Linked DNA regions of Homo sapiens: region 2 is linked to region 1. Evidence: promoter capture Hi-C in human tissues and cell types (Jung and others, 2019). All regions are on one chromosome and are shown on one strand. The core of a region is centred on a gene start or on the middle of the fragment in contact, and the rest is flanking DNA. Distances in the headings are between cores, read along the strand shown.

Region 1 (6,918 bases), core at 1,295-3,794:
TGGGTGAGACAGAGTGAGACTCTTTCTCTCAAAAAAAGAAAAAAGAAAAGAAAAAGGGCAGAGAAAAAGGCATGCCAGACAGGCATACTTAAGGTATTCTCAGAGGACAGGTTGGCAGCTATCGAGAGGGATCACATAAGTAAGAAGTGAGATGTGAAGTCAGACATAGAGGTTGGAGCCAGGTATGGAGATCCTCAAAATTTGAGATAAGGAGCATAGACCAGATTCCATGGACAGTGGAGAGTCATTGAGGGATTCCAAGAAGGGAATTGGTTTGGTGACAGCTGAGTTTTTCTTTCTGGCAGCATTGTCCAGGGGAGCATGCCTTGTTGTGGGGTAGGCAGGGAGGTCAGTTGGGAGGTTACTATGAAGCTGGGGACCATGGGCCTGAGAAGGAAAGGGGACACGCGTGAAGGCTTGACGTGTGGAAAAGAGGGAGAGAGAGGGTCCAAAGATGTTCAGTCTGATTCTTTTGATTCTCCAGACAGCTAAACAGCTACTGAAACCCTGGCAAATAGTAGTGGGGTGTGAGAGTGGAAGAGACTGCAGACCAAATCTGGGCTGGTGTTTTTCAGGAAGCGGGCTCCTCTTTGGGCAGACCTAAGTCTGATCATCCTATCCTAAACTCACAGGACCAGTAGGACCCAGAGGTGCCCCAGCTGGGCCACATCCACTCCCAGGGCCCTTTCCTCCCTCTTCCAAGAGAAGAATCCAGAAACGACACAGCATAGCTCCCCATGGTCCCCAGGGAGCCGTAGATTCTTGGAACAGTGTCCTGCAGTGGATAGACCGCAGGAAGAGTGTCTAGTCCTGCCTTTTACTCCCTCAGCTCCTGTTGACTCCCAGGAAAACAATGCCATCTTCATGGGCTGCGCTAAGTGGCAACGAACCCCTGGGAGTCTGATCAAGGCAGGGAAGGGGACTAGGGAGAGGAGAGGGAACAGTAAAGACAGAGGAAACTGCTTCTGGAGGCATCTCAATGGGCTTTGGGGGAAGGTGGGTTTCATCTCAGAATCCAAGCACGTCGGGGCTGGGGAGGAGCTCTTGAGATCATTTTGGCCACCCCTCCTTGTCTGGAGGTGAGCCTGAGACCCAGACAGGGGAAGGGACTTGCCCAAGGTCATATATCACGGTAGTGATGGAGCTGGGCTGAAATCATAGGGTGTTGGGGACAGGTAAGGTGTTATTCCCGTCTGGACAGTTTTGAATAGCACCACCAAGGGCCTGGCTAGAGATTCCTTTCCTGGGCAACGTTTGTTCTCTCTCTCTCTCTCTGTCTCTCTCTCTGTGTGTGTGTGTGTGTGTGCCCGCCCTGTGTGTACCCTGTGAGTGCCTGTGTGTATCTGTGTGCATGTGTGCCTATGCCTGTGTTGTCTGACAGTCTGGGTGTACGTGTGGCCTCCTACATGGTGATCTGCCCTGGCTTGGAAAGAACTGGGGTTATTCCTGTGAGGTGACTGTTTTGCTGGGACAGCAGAGAAGAAGGCTGACAAGGCCAGATCTGGCTTCCCGCACCAATTCTGCCGCTCTGAGAAAATCACAGGCACTGACTGGTGGCGACCAAACTCCTGGAGCTGAAACACGCAGACACACGTACACTCACAGCCGCCGTTATAGGGTGGCCCCAAGTGCCCCGAAGTGCCGCATTCCGACATCCTCATGCCTCCCCAGAGCCCAGCAGGTGTAGACCTGCTAGGCTGTGGAAGCCGATCCTCAGGGATACGGAGCACTGGCGCTCTCCCGCCGCTCACTCTCAGCGCCCTGTTCAGGGCCTGGCCCGGCCACACCCCTCCTGCCCGAGCCTCCGCCGGTCGTCCCTGCCCCTCTCACACACTTCGGAGTCCCTGGGGGCCTATGCAACATGGCAGGGCCAAGTTAGGGCTGGCCCGGCCGGAGAGTCAGGTCCGGAGCCAGGAATCGACGCCTCCCCGAGTTCCGTCCCCGCGGAGCACACACGCCAGGCTGAACTCGGGTTTCTGCGAGCGCAGGGTTCGGCGCCCAGCCCCTCTCGGGGGAGCCCCCGCCCCCAGCCCCAGCCGGCCCCGGACGACTCCCGGAGCCCCGCGCCCAGCCCTGGGTTCCCGCCCCCCGCCCGGCGAGCCGTTACCGATGGTGGTGATGACGGTGATGGCGAAGTAGAAGGAGCCGGCGAAGCGCCACTGCACGCCGGCCTTGTGCGGCTTGAGGCGCAGCACGACGCGCTCCAGCTCCTCGTAGCCGCCCTGGCTGAGGTTGTAGCGCGCCCGCAGCTCCTGCTGCCGCAGCTCCAGCCGCTGCCGCTCGATCAGCTCGGGCTCCGACTCCAGCGCGTCGAAGACCGCGGCGCCCACCAGCAGGTAGGTGAAGGTGCACACGATGAGCGCCAGCGTGCGCACGTTCTGCCGCTTCATCGTCCCGCCCGGGCCGCCGCCGGCCCCCCGGCGCCCCCGGCCCGCGCCTCGGCCCCGGCCGCCGCTGCTGCTGCCCCGGAGGCGGCCTGGGGCATGGCTGCGCTCGCCGCTCTCCGCGCCGGGCACCCGCTCAGCGCCCGGGGCCGCCGCCGCCGCCGCCGCCGCGGAGCTGTCCCTTCAGCACCACCCACCGCCCTCCTCCGCCCGGCCCCGCGCCCGCCCCCCGCCCCCCGCCCGCAGGCCGCCTCCTCCCGCCAGCCCTCCCGCCCAGCCAAATAAGGACTGGGGAGACGCGCCGAGGAGGGAGGAGGGGGGCTGGCGGAGGGGACGGGAGGGGCGGCCGCGAGAGAGCCCGGGCAGGACAGAGAGAGAGAAAGAGAGAGAGAGCGAGCCCGAGAGACAGAGAAAACTAGACAGCGAAACGCTGATAACTACGGAGAATGGGAGAAAGGCAGTGTAGGACTGAGGGAAGGGGGCTGTGTGACAGAGGAGGAGATAAAATCAGAGGTGCACTCAGACAGAAAAAGAAGAGAGGCGGGCAGAAAAATACAGAGCAAAAGATGGAAACAGAGAGAGCAACAGACTGAGACAGAGAGGCCTGGATTGCTGGAGATAAACTAATGACAGAGAAACAGACAGGAAGGCAAGGAAGGCAGAGCGAGCCCCTCCCCACCCCACCCTCCACCCTCATCACAGCATATTGCAGCCAGGAGGCACTTGGGGCCTCGCTGTCCTGCCCTTATCCTATGGATGAGGAAATGGAGGCCCAGAGAGGTCAAGTGACACGCATGGGCACGCAGTGATTTCGTGACAGCACTGGGACTCAGCCAAGCGTTCCTTCCTCCCAGGCCACACTCCTTCCTCCCTTGGGCCAGACTCTGGCTGTCTTGGAAGCAGGCAGGGCCCAGCTGTGGACCTGGGCACACATGAGCTGACACCCAAGGGAAAGCCCTGTTCTCAGGCAATGTGTGCCTTCCCAGGTCAGCACAGTTCTTGGAACTGGCTGAGAAGGCACAGGCTGGGAGTCTAGGCCTCCTGCTTCGCTCCCAGGGGCTTCTAGGCTGTCCCGACTCCCATGGTTCCTGTCTTGCACCCGTGCACCAGGCTGGGCTTAGGCTGAGTTGCCAGAGATAGCACCTGCCACCACCTTAGGGCATCCCAGCAGAACCGGGATCTAGCTGGAATTGGGCAGGTGGGGCCCAGAGCAGGAGGCTCACTGGCAGACTGCGGGAACTGGGGCAGGAGAGGGGGTCCCTATGCCTCAGTTTCTTCATTTGTCAAACATGGTGGCTATGGTGGTGAGGTGGGAAGGGTAGTGGAAACTCAGGCATTACTGACCCTCTCAGAGCCTTGTTTCCTTATCTTTTCAACGAGGTGTCGTAGCAGATGATCCCACAGGCCTTGCCCAGCTCTAAACAACTCCAGACTTGGATGGGCTGAGTGAGCAGAATGATTGGAATGCAAATCTCAGTGCCAAGAAGGGTTAAAAAGTCCTTCACAGGACCCTGGCATGGGCCAGGCAGAGAGACAGGGAAGAGACACCAAGGCCCCTGACTGAGAGCAGACTCAGGAGGCAGTCAGCCAGAAGCTGGAGCACTGTCTACCCACAGGCTGGGCTGACCTGTCACTGCCGGACACTACACTCCTCCAATGACACCCCAGAAGTGCCACCAACCCCTTCATTCCTTCAACAAGTATTTATTAAGCATCTGTTGTGTGTCAGGGATTCATCATCTCTGGTCCTCACCACAATCCTGAAAGGTAGGTGTGGTCATGCCTATTTTATAGATGGGGAAACTGAGGCTAAAGGCAATGTAGAGAATCAGTAAATTTCACTCAGCTGGGAAGAGGCTTCAGTCTGTCTGCCTCTTAAGCCCATGCTCTTTGCCATGACTCCTTGAGTCTCTCTTTTTTTTTTTTCAATTTGTAAAGTGGAATAGATAATAATATTAGCTCTACCCGCGTCTTGAACCATTTGTTTTGAGAGATCAAAGAAGAACACATGTGTGCAAATCAGATGATATGAGGCTCTCTAATGACTTCAGAGCCCAATGGGAGGGTCCTACATTTATAGCACCATGTTCCCCCTCCCTCTTCAAGGGAAGATCTTTGTTTCTTTGCAGGCACAGAATTTCTGGTCTTGCCCTCTGACCAGCAACTCAGCCTATTGCAGGCTTTTCCCCTTTGCATCTTCTGGCTCCCTGGAAGGAAAGTACTGCCTTTCCCAGCTTCTCAGAGGTGAAGGTACAAGTTAGGTTCTGTGCATTTCTGATGTATTGGCTCCTGGTGACAGTCACCCCAGAAGCGAATTCCCCCAAAGCCTGTCTAGATGAGCAAGAGGGTTGCTAGACCAGGTTTTCAAGGTGAAAAGGCTGTGTCCAGGTTCTGCTTGCTTGTGACTGCCAGGCCAGACAGCTGTACCGATGAAAGGTGATATTATGAGTGAAAGAGCTTTGGAAAAGGGAAAAAGCTGTCTTTAGGGGCAGGGCATGTATTATTAATCATGATGAAGCTTTTTCTCTGAGCACTTCAATACTGAAAGGACCTTTAGAGATCATTTAGCCCAACCTTCTCATGTTACATATGAGGAAACTGAGGCCCAGACAGTAGGAAGAGTGTTGTCCAAGGTCACACAGTGAGTGAGGGGGAACCAGGACTCATGTCCCAAGGTTGGCACTTTCTTGTTGCACCTATTATGTGTGGGACCAGGGCACCTATCAGTGGGGAGGCCCTGAAGCCCAGAGGGCAGCCTAGGTCTCCTTCTTCCTGCCCCTCCTCTCTCCTTCTCTTGGGGAGAAGGTTCTGGAATAGGAGCCATGTTGGTACCAGTCTAGGTTTCTGAGTAGCCCCTGGGACTTGTAGGCAACCTGGGTCAGATTGTGCCAAAGACATATCAGCTTATCCCATTTCTTCCCATCCTGGGCTCCTCAGACCTGCCTGTGCCTGCCCAGTGTCAACCTGTCTCTGCCACCTGTTTGCTCTGGCATTGGGGGCCAGTCGCTCCTTCTCCTTGAGGCTTGCTGCTCATCCATCAGTGGAGGGGTCTGGACCAGGAAATGTCCACACTCCCTTCATTTATAGCATCCCATGACCTTCCCGGACTCTGTTTCTCTAGTTCTCCCAATAATCAGACAAAAAGAGGAAATAGCACTACTTTTAAGATTCTAGTTTGTGAGGAAAGGGACACAGAGTTAGGTAGGATAAATTGAACAGAATGTGTCATTAGTTACTATATTTTATTATATACTAACATCATACACAATTATTAACCAGCTTTATCTTCCAGTCCATTCTTCTCTAAGTTCTAAACACATCCAAGTACTTCCATGCTTCACATGGCTCATGTGGCTCCCATAACCTGGGATGCTGGTGCCTCCTTGCCTTTCCCATCTTCTGTCTGTTGAACTCCTATTCAGGCTCCAAGACCCAGCTTAAAGACCACTCCCTCCATGAAGCATTTCCCAGTTTCCTCTGATCAGAACCACTGGCTCTTTTTGTGCTTCTGCAGCACCCTATCTAAGCATCAACTCAGCAGGTATTCCTCCTGCCTAAAAGATTAGCTGTTCTTTCATATCCATCTTCCCCACTGGCTCATTATCTTCTCCAGGGTGGAGGAAACCCTTCTCACTCATGCTACTCTCCCCGCAGTACTTTGCACCTTAGAGCTGCTCCACATGTTTCCTTGGGTGACTCACTCAAATGAAGGCTTTAAGGATCTCTATACCTGAGTTAGAGACCATCAGTGTCAGAGGGAGAGGGGCACAGATGGCTGAGTCTGCAGGCAGAAAAACCCTGGCAATCTGCTTCTGTGGTTCTCTGAAGAGAGATAGTTCTAAAGCTGGGACAAGCTCTGTCTAGCTTAGGAGAGGAGGATAAAGACAGATGTGTGTCCCAGGGCCCAAGGAAGCATGTGGGAGACAGCATTGAACTAGGAGTCCAGAGGCTGGAGTTTGGTCCCAGTGCTGCCATCAACTACCACCAACTAGTTGGGTGGACTCGGGAAACTCACGTGGCCTCTATGTGTCTCAGTTTCTTTTTCTATAAGACAAAAGCGTTGGCTGTATCCAAAGGTCCCTTCCTGCTCTGACATTCTGGGATGTTAACGAGAGCCCTGGCCATTTGACCAGAGTGGTCAGTGTACAATGGCCAAGAATGTGGCCAGAAGGATGAGAGGCCCAAATACCTCCCTGTCCATTGCTTTCCAGCCCCCTGTATTGGCAGTTTGGCTGGAGGATAGGGGCAGGATCAATGAGGTAGGACCCTGAGTCAGACAAGCTGAAGTTCAGATCCTGACTCCATCAGTTTCTAGACCAGATCCTCACGTGAAATTCAAGTTCGTTTTGTTTAGAGCAGACCATAATCTCCTGTAGGGCAGGGGTAGGGCCTTACTCATGTCTGTAAGCCACAGCTCCTGGCACAGCAGCTGACACAGAGAAGGTGTTTGTAAACACCCCTCTATTTGGTCCAGTTGGCCTGGTGGGCTCAGGTGGGTCAGTAGGGCCTGGGGCCCATGGTTCATGTAGGAGGC
Region 2 (7,089 bases), core at 3,013-5,512, 130 kb after region 1:
GGGTACTGGAGGAGCTCCATGACAAGTGTCCACTGGGGTGAGGCTTTGAGGAAAGTCCCAGGGCAGGGGGAGCCCCTGGGTCTGGCTCCTTCCCCAGGCGATGGTGTTGCCCCAGGGTCCTCTTCTCTTTTCAGGGACCCATTCCTTCTGGGAGATCTCATCTGTGTTAGACTTCCAACATGTCCCGTATGTCAATGACAGCCTCTCTACCTCTGGGTCTCCAGCCTCCACCATTCTGGCAATGGATCCACATGCCTGGCAATGGATCCACACAAGGCTGGGCCACCACGCCACAGACTCAGCGCCACTGAAACTGCTCTTCCTCCAGTATATCCCTGCCCCCTCCAACCTCCACCTAAGCCAGAAACTGGGACTTGATGGCTTCTCCATCACCCTCCATCACCCTCCACATCTGACCTCTCCCTAAGTCCTGCTTAGGCCCCTCCTTAGCCACTGGCCTGTGGCCCTCCTCCATCCCACTGCTGCGAGCCTCCCTCATTGCTTGCCTGGACAATCTCCAATCTCCTCCCTGGTCTAAATGGAGCATCACCCCCTCCAGCCTGCTGTCCATACAGCACCAGAGCCATCCCTCCTCTCGCCCATCACTGCACTGTAGGTGCCCTGGGCCCCAGCAGCGTTACTCCCAGTCTCTGGGGCCCCACTTGCTCTTCAGGCCTCTGGGCCTTTGCATGGAATTCCTTTCCCTGGGATGCATTTTCCCTGTTGCCCATCTGGGGATCTGCCACCCACTCCTAAGGATCCAGTGCCCTCTGCTACCTCCCCTGACTGCACACCCTGTACCTAGCACCTGCCTCACTGAGAGGACTATCATCCTCAAGTCCACACTCAGACCCGAATGAACTTGTCTCTTCTTCTGCTAATCCGTGTTCTCCTTTATCCTTGGCACCTGGCACATGACAAGTGCTCAACAAATGTTCACTGGAGGAGGCAGAATTCCAGAAACTCTGGGGGCACCATGCCCTGGAGTCCTGATTTAAGAGGAGCGTGGCTCTGATCAGCAGAGCACATGCTGGCATGAAGCATCCCGCCTACAGGGGCGATGGGCTCCTCCGAAGAAAGGAGCCATAGAAAAATGATGTGTTCTCGTGATTCTTCTCTCCGCCCCCAAGCTCTCTGCCATACTCCTCCTCTGCTCCCTGCTTCTCCACCTTCTCTGAATGCCACGATATTTGCATCCCAATAGAATAGAAGCCCTCTCCTCCGCAATCCTCCTGAGTTCTGCCTGGCTTCTGTTCAGGGCTTACTGCTCAGGCAGGTGTGTGTGCACTCACACACTTGCACACATGGGCAGGTTCACATTCTTTAGCACTCAGTGGGCGCATCTTGGCAAGCTAGGTCTGTGTCCCTTATATGCACCTGCATTTGTGTTCCTTTGAGCATGCCCTGAGCTCCACGGTGGAGCCTTCTGCAGTCCTGTTTGTGTTGATACGTGGCAGGCCAAGGTAGGGAGGAACAGAGGGGAATGGCAAGTTTTATAACAGGGCATCGAGTGGCAGCATTTGCTGTGTTGGCTGGTGCCACCACACCTCCCCTTCAACCCCTTCATCTGCTCCCATCCACCACCCTGTCCCTCCATCCATCTGTACACCACATAAGCCAGGAGACTGTGCCAAGCCGGACCCCTGGGCAATGGTCACATGTGGATTCTAAGGCCCACTGTGGGTTACTGTGTGAAAAGGAGCAGTCCCTTCCCTGACTCTTAATAGCACTGCTTGGCCCCACAGCCAACATTAAAACTAATTACCATGAGCCATCAGAGATCCCATGATCAACCTTATTAACTGATTAACCAGCGACTATTCGGCATGTCCACATTCCACAATGCATCCTCTCCTCCATAACGCCTCCTACTGAGGACAGTTCTGATCACATTCCTCCCCAGGGCAAAACCCTTCAAGGGCTCCCTATTGCCTGTGACACCAAGCACAAGCGGGGCCAGGTGTCAGTCCCTCCGCGCCAGGGCCTCTGTGAGAATGCTTTCCAGCCGCATCATCCACTGTCATCACAGTTTTCCCATTCCAGCTGAAGAGGCTATTTGCTGCTTTGAAAGAACATCCTTCTGGCAACTCCACACCATTTTTTTTGTCTCAAGCCACATCCTCCATCCAGAAGGCTCTGCTCTCCGCACTTCCCACATTGTGATCTTACCCATCCTTTGAGGCCCATCTTGAATGCCCTCTTTCCCATGGAGCCTCCATGACCCAGCCCACAGACCCTGCCTGCCCGCTCCATGGAACTGTCTTTGCCCTTTGCACCTCTCCTATGTCTCAGTTCATATTGTTTTTCTTTTTCTTTTCTTTTTTTTTTTTTTTGAGACTGAGTCTCACTCTGTCACCCAGGCTGGAGTGCAATGGCATGGTCCTCACTGCAACCTCCATCTCCCGGGTTCAAGCGATTCTCCTGCCTCAGCCTCCCAAGTAGCTGGGATTACAGGTGCCCGCCACTATGCCCAGCTAATTTTTGTACATTTAGTAGAGACGGGGTTTTGCCATATTGGCCAGACTGGTCTCAAACTCCTGACCTCAGGTAATCCACCTGCCCCGGCCTCCCAAAGTGCAGGTGTGAGCCACCGCACCTGGCCTCAGTTCACATTCTTTCATATCACAATAATCTGAGCCACTGGAATATTCTTTCTTATTAATCATAGGCTCTCTGGGGAAGTAGGGTTCTGTTGTACTCATACTGGCATGCTTGGCATTCTCTGCACCCAGTGGATGTTCTGTGAATATCTGTTGAATGGAATTGACAAATGGTGGCACATTTTAAAGGGTTGCCCTTTCTTCTGGAGAGAAGGAGGATCCCTGTTGCAAAGCCCAAGTCTCCAGGAGCCCCTGATCACCTGTTCTTAGGGGGCTCCACAGTTCCTCAAGGTAGAGAGGCACCAGTTACCTATGAAATGTACTTGAACAGCTCAGAGGTGAATTCCAGGGAAGAGATAGGGGCTGGCCTTGGGGCAGAGGTCCTGGGAAAGGGGTGGGGAATGACGTGGCTTATGAATCCTCCAGAAGAGAAGATACTGCAGCAGAGAAAGGCAGGTGAGTGGCCAGAGGCTCCCTAAGTGTGTGAGGCCCTCTGAGACCAGGCTGCCTCCTGGGGGGATAGAGAAGGAAGCTCCCTGTGGGGACAGGGCCAAGAGGGAGAAGAATTGAGGGACTGTAGAATTTACTTTCTGCTTCTGTATTTTGGGCTTGAATCTGGGACAATGATCTTTTCCCTCAGCTGGAGATGAGAACCGAACAACGAAAGTAGTGCCTGCTGTGCCTTCAGTCAGACCTCTCAGCCTGGGGGCGGGGGTGTGCCAAGGAGAATGGCACAGGTAGAAGGCTTCACACGAGGAGGTCCCTTCTTTCAAATGCTTGAAAACAGGACCACACCTGCCAGTTTCTCAACAGTGGTCTGCAATGCAAGGGGCCATAGAAATTCTCAGACAAGCATTCCTGTCCCTGGTTACATCTTAGAATTGCCTGGGAGGATTAGAAACTCCTGCAGCCCTGGCCCAGCCCAACCAATGACATCAGAATCTCTAGATGGGGCCCGAACACAGGTCATAGTTAAAGCTCCCCAGGAGATTCTAATACTAACGAATGGGCACAAAGGGTCCCCTACCTCCTCCTGGGCAGATGGCCTTTGTTTCATACCCCAAGATGCACTGGCCTGTTTGGAGGGCTGCACCTCGGGTGCCAGGGCCTGGGTTGAAGTGGAAGGGGCTTTGGAAATGCAAATGCTTTGGAACCCTCCCTTCCCAAGCCTGGCCTGACCTCTCTCCCTGAAGGGTAAAGCCCCAGGCCCCAGGAAGCTGGCAGAGTGTATTACTCTGTTCCCACGCTGCTAAGAAGAACTGCCCCAAACTGGGTAATTTATAAAGGAAAGAGGTTTAATTGACTAATAGTTCTGCAGGGTTGGGGAAGTCTCAGGAAACTTACAGTGATGGCAGAAAGTGAAGCAAACATGTCCTTGTTCTCATGGCGGCAGGAGAGAAAAATGGGTGCCCAACAAATGGGGAGCCCCTTATAAAACCATCTGATCTTGTGAGAACTAACTCTCATGAGAACAGGATGGGGGAACTGCCCCCATGATTCAATTATCTCCACCTGGTCCCTCTTGTGACATGTGGGGATTATGGAAACTACAATTCAAGATGAGATTTGGGTGGGGACACAGCCAAACCATATCACAGGGGCAGGCAGTAGTGGGCTACAGGCAGTGCCTACTGGCTTCAAAGGAATCAACTTCTAAATTTTCAGGAAATTGTTAAGTCTATTATTAAACAAGCCAGTATTCAATATCAAATTATATTCCATTACAATTAAATATGTTATATTAGGCCAGGCATGTTGGCTTCTATAATCCCAGCACTTTGGGAGGCTGAGGCAGGCAAATGGCTTGAGCCCAAGAGTTCAAGACCAGCCTGGGCAGCCCTGTCTCTACAAAAAATATAAAAATTAGCCAGGTATGGTGGTGCACACCTGTGGTCCCAGCTACTCAGGGGGCTGAGGTGGGAGGATCACTTGAGCCCAGGAGGTTAAGGCTATAGTGAGCTGTGATCGTGCCACTGCACTCAAGCCTGGGTGACAGAGTAAGACTCTGTCTCAAAGGAAAGAAAAACACACTAAAACCAAAGGAGACAGTCAAAACTCCTCACTTCCTAATTATTTTGCCACGTTACTATCGTCTGTGTTTGAGGTTGTCATGTCCACTCTATCTGTGGGGTGGAAATGTTATATAATGGTGCACAGCTGTGCATCCATCCCTCCCCAACTCTGCAATTAAGGACACTATGTTGATAGTTTGAAATCAGCTTTGGTGAGAGTATTTATACCACAGATACGGATGAATGTTACAAATCAAAGCATTTTTGCTCCAGAGAACTGGTTGTTAAACATTTGTCAGTACACCACCGTGTGTGTGTTTGCTGTACAGGGATTCTGGGGATGGGGACACAGCCACCTTTGTGGGACCACTCTCCTGACAATGGAGTGGAACGCACTGATTTTAGGACCAGAGGCCCCTGAAGTCTCCGAGGTCCAGCTCAGTGACAGATGTGGGCACAACTGCCACCCCAGGCAGACAGAGAGAGGGGCTGGGAGGCAAATCCTCCTGCCCTCACTCTTGGTGAGAGCCGCTGGGCAGGAGCTGTGGGCATGGGGCGCAGTGGCAGTCTGGGCATGAATGAATGCATGGCGCAGGCCAAGTGTCTGCACTGAGAGCCGGTGAGGCATGGCCAGAAACAGAGAATGAGGAGTGGATGCCACCCAGATCCGACTTGCAAGCAGGAAGCTTGGATCCTCACTGAGGCCAATCTCATCCCTTCAAACCCCTTCAAATCTCAGGGGCTCTGACCCAAGAGCTCCTGCCCACTGCAGGAATAGCACCCAGGCCAGGCGTAGGCAGGCACTGCCTGTGGCAAGGTGCCTAGGAGCTGTGTCCCCAGGAACAGCATGGAACCAAATGGAGCACCCTGGCCGGCGAGGCTGAAGACCAGCTTTGTTATTATTTCATGTTCCCCGGGGTTCCTAGAACCAGATCTTGAACACAGTAGAGATCTAACTAATGATAACAGCTAACAATGATCAAGTGCCAGGCTTTACGCATGTTAACTAACTGAAACCTCTTTAACCTGCACACCGTGATCATCCCCATTGAACAGATAAGGTAGGTGAGGCAGGGGGGATAAGTAACCTGCCCAGGGTAAGGAAGTCATGGAGCCAGGATTCGTACCAGGCAGGCTTGCTCCAGAGTCCATCTCTTACTGTCGACCCCATTCCCTCCCTGCTAAATGAGGGAGGCAGTGTGAAACACCACATGACGGTTGGGGAGATATTGGGGTGAGTTGGGGCGTTGAAGTCACAAAGCCGAGGCTCGGCAACTTGCTGAATGACTTTGGGCAAGCTGCTCATTCCTCATCTGGGTTATTGTGATGATTTTAAAAAAGAAAAAAGGCCAGGCGTGGTGGCTCATGCCTGTAATCCCAGCACTTTGGGAGGCCAAGGCGGGTTGATCATCTGAGGTCAGGAGTTCGAGACCAGCCTGGCCAACATGGCAAAACCCCGCCTGTACTAAAAATACAAAAATTAGCCGGCTGTGGTGGCGCGTGCCTGTAATCCCAGCTACTCAGGAGGCTGAGGTAGGGAGAATTGCTTGAACCCAGGAGGCAGAGGTTGCTGTGAGCCGAGATTGCGCCATTGCACTCCAGCCTGGGCAACAGAGCAAGACTCCATTAAAAAAAGAAGAAGGGGTAGGGGAAGGGGAAGGGGAAGGGGAAGGGGAAGAAGAAGGAGAAGGAGAAGGAGAAGGAGAAGAAGAAGAAGAAGAAAATGTTGTGAAGGGCCCAGCACAGTGCCTGGTACATAGTTGGAGCTCAGACTTAGGAGATCATGGTGTTATTGCCAGGCATTAGGGACCTGGCTCCAGCCCAGCACTTCAATCACCAGCGTGGGGCTCAGGCAAGTCCCCCCACACCTCAGTGACCACATCTGGAACAGGAGGGGACAGGGCTACATGATCTCTGAGGTCCACACCAGCATGAATATTCTCGCCTCTATGAATAAAGCAGGTAAGAGCAGGGTGATGTGAGTGTCAGAAGAGACTGGCTGTGCTTTAAAATCCTGTGATTAGTGTTTGAACAGACACACAAAAATAAGAATTATCCAAGTGTGGTCGGGAATCTTGGGTTCTTTCATTAAGTTAACAGAATTGCCAACGAGGTAGCATTTGGAAACACAAAATGACTCAATTCATCCCTTGCTGATGGGAATCTTTAAGGGGAACACAACCCTTCCAGAAAGATCTAGATGAGAAAGCAGCAGATACGGGCTCAGCTGCTCAAACTAGCCCAGTCCAGGCTTGAAGCCTCATTCATGATCCTCTTATTGCCATTTCTAAATCAATCACAGGACAGGGCGCTCAAGGGAACTGCTGAGAAGTGGCAGGAATAGGAAAGCACCCTGGGGACTGCTTCTGAAACCTGCAGCTCCCACCCCTGCCAAACAGAGTTGGGGAACTGTGGGGCAGGGTTTGCAGGAGCACCAGGCCTTGCCCCTCAGATGGGAAATGTCCAGGAGTCAGACA

The links. The method cuts DNA at HindIII sites, captures the fragments that hold promoters and counts their contacts. A contact is called where the count stands out against the background at its distance.
Region 2: a fragment that was not itself captured here is called in contact with the fragment with the promoter of KCNK3 in region 1 in 2 of the 25 tissues and cell types used here (mesenchymal stem cells and spleen).

What each region holds. Positions count from the first base shown.
Region 1 is chr2:26,688,348-26,695,265 of GRCh38, reverse strand. KCNK3 (potassium two pore domain channel subfamily K member 3) reads right to left here and starts at 2,544. Exons shown (of 2, transcript NM_002246.3): 1 at 2,108-2,544. The coding sequence starts at 2,390. The HindIII fragment of the contact is 34,558 bases long and covers 1-6,659 here.
Region 2 is chr2:26,564,261-26,571,349 of GRCh38, reverse strand. The region is part of intron 1 of CIMIP2C (ciliary microtubule inner protein 2C); the gene reads right to left. Among named protein-coding and RNA genes, the nearest start is that of CIMIP2C, 5.2 kb to the right of the region's middle. RefSeq lists an enhancer at 4,737-5,242. The HindIII fragment of the contact is 4,843 bases long and covers 1,841-6,683 here.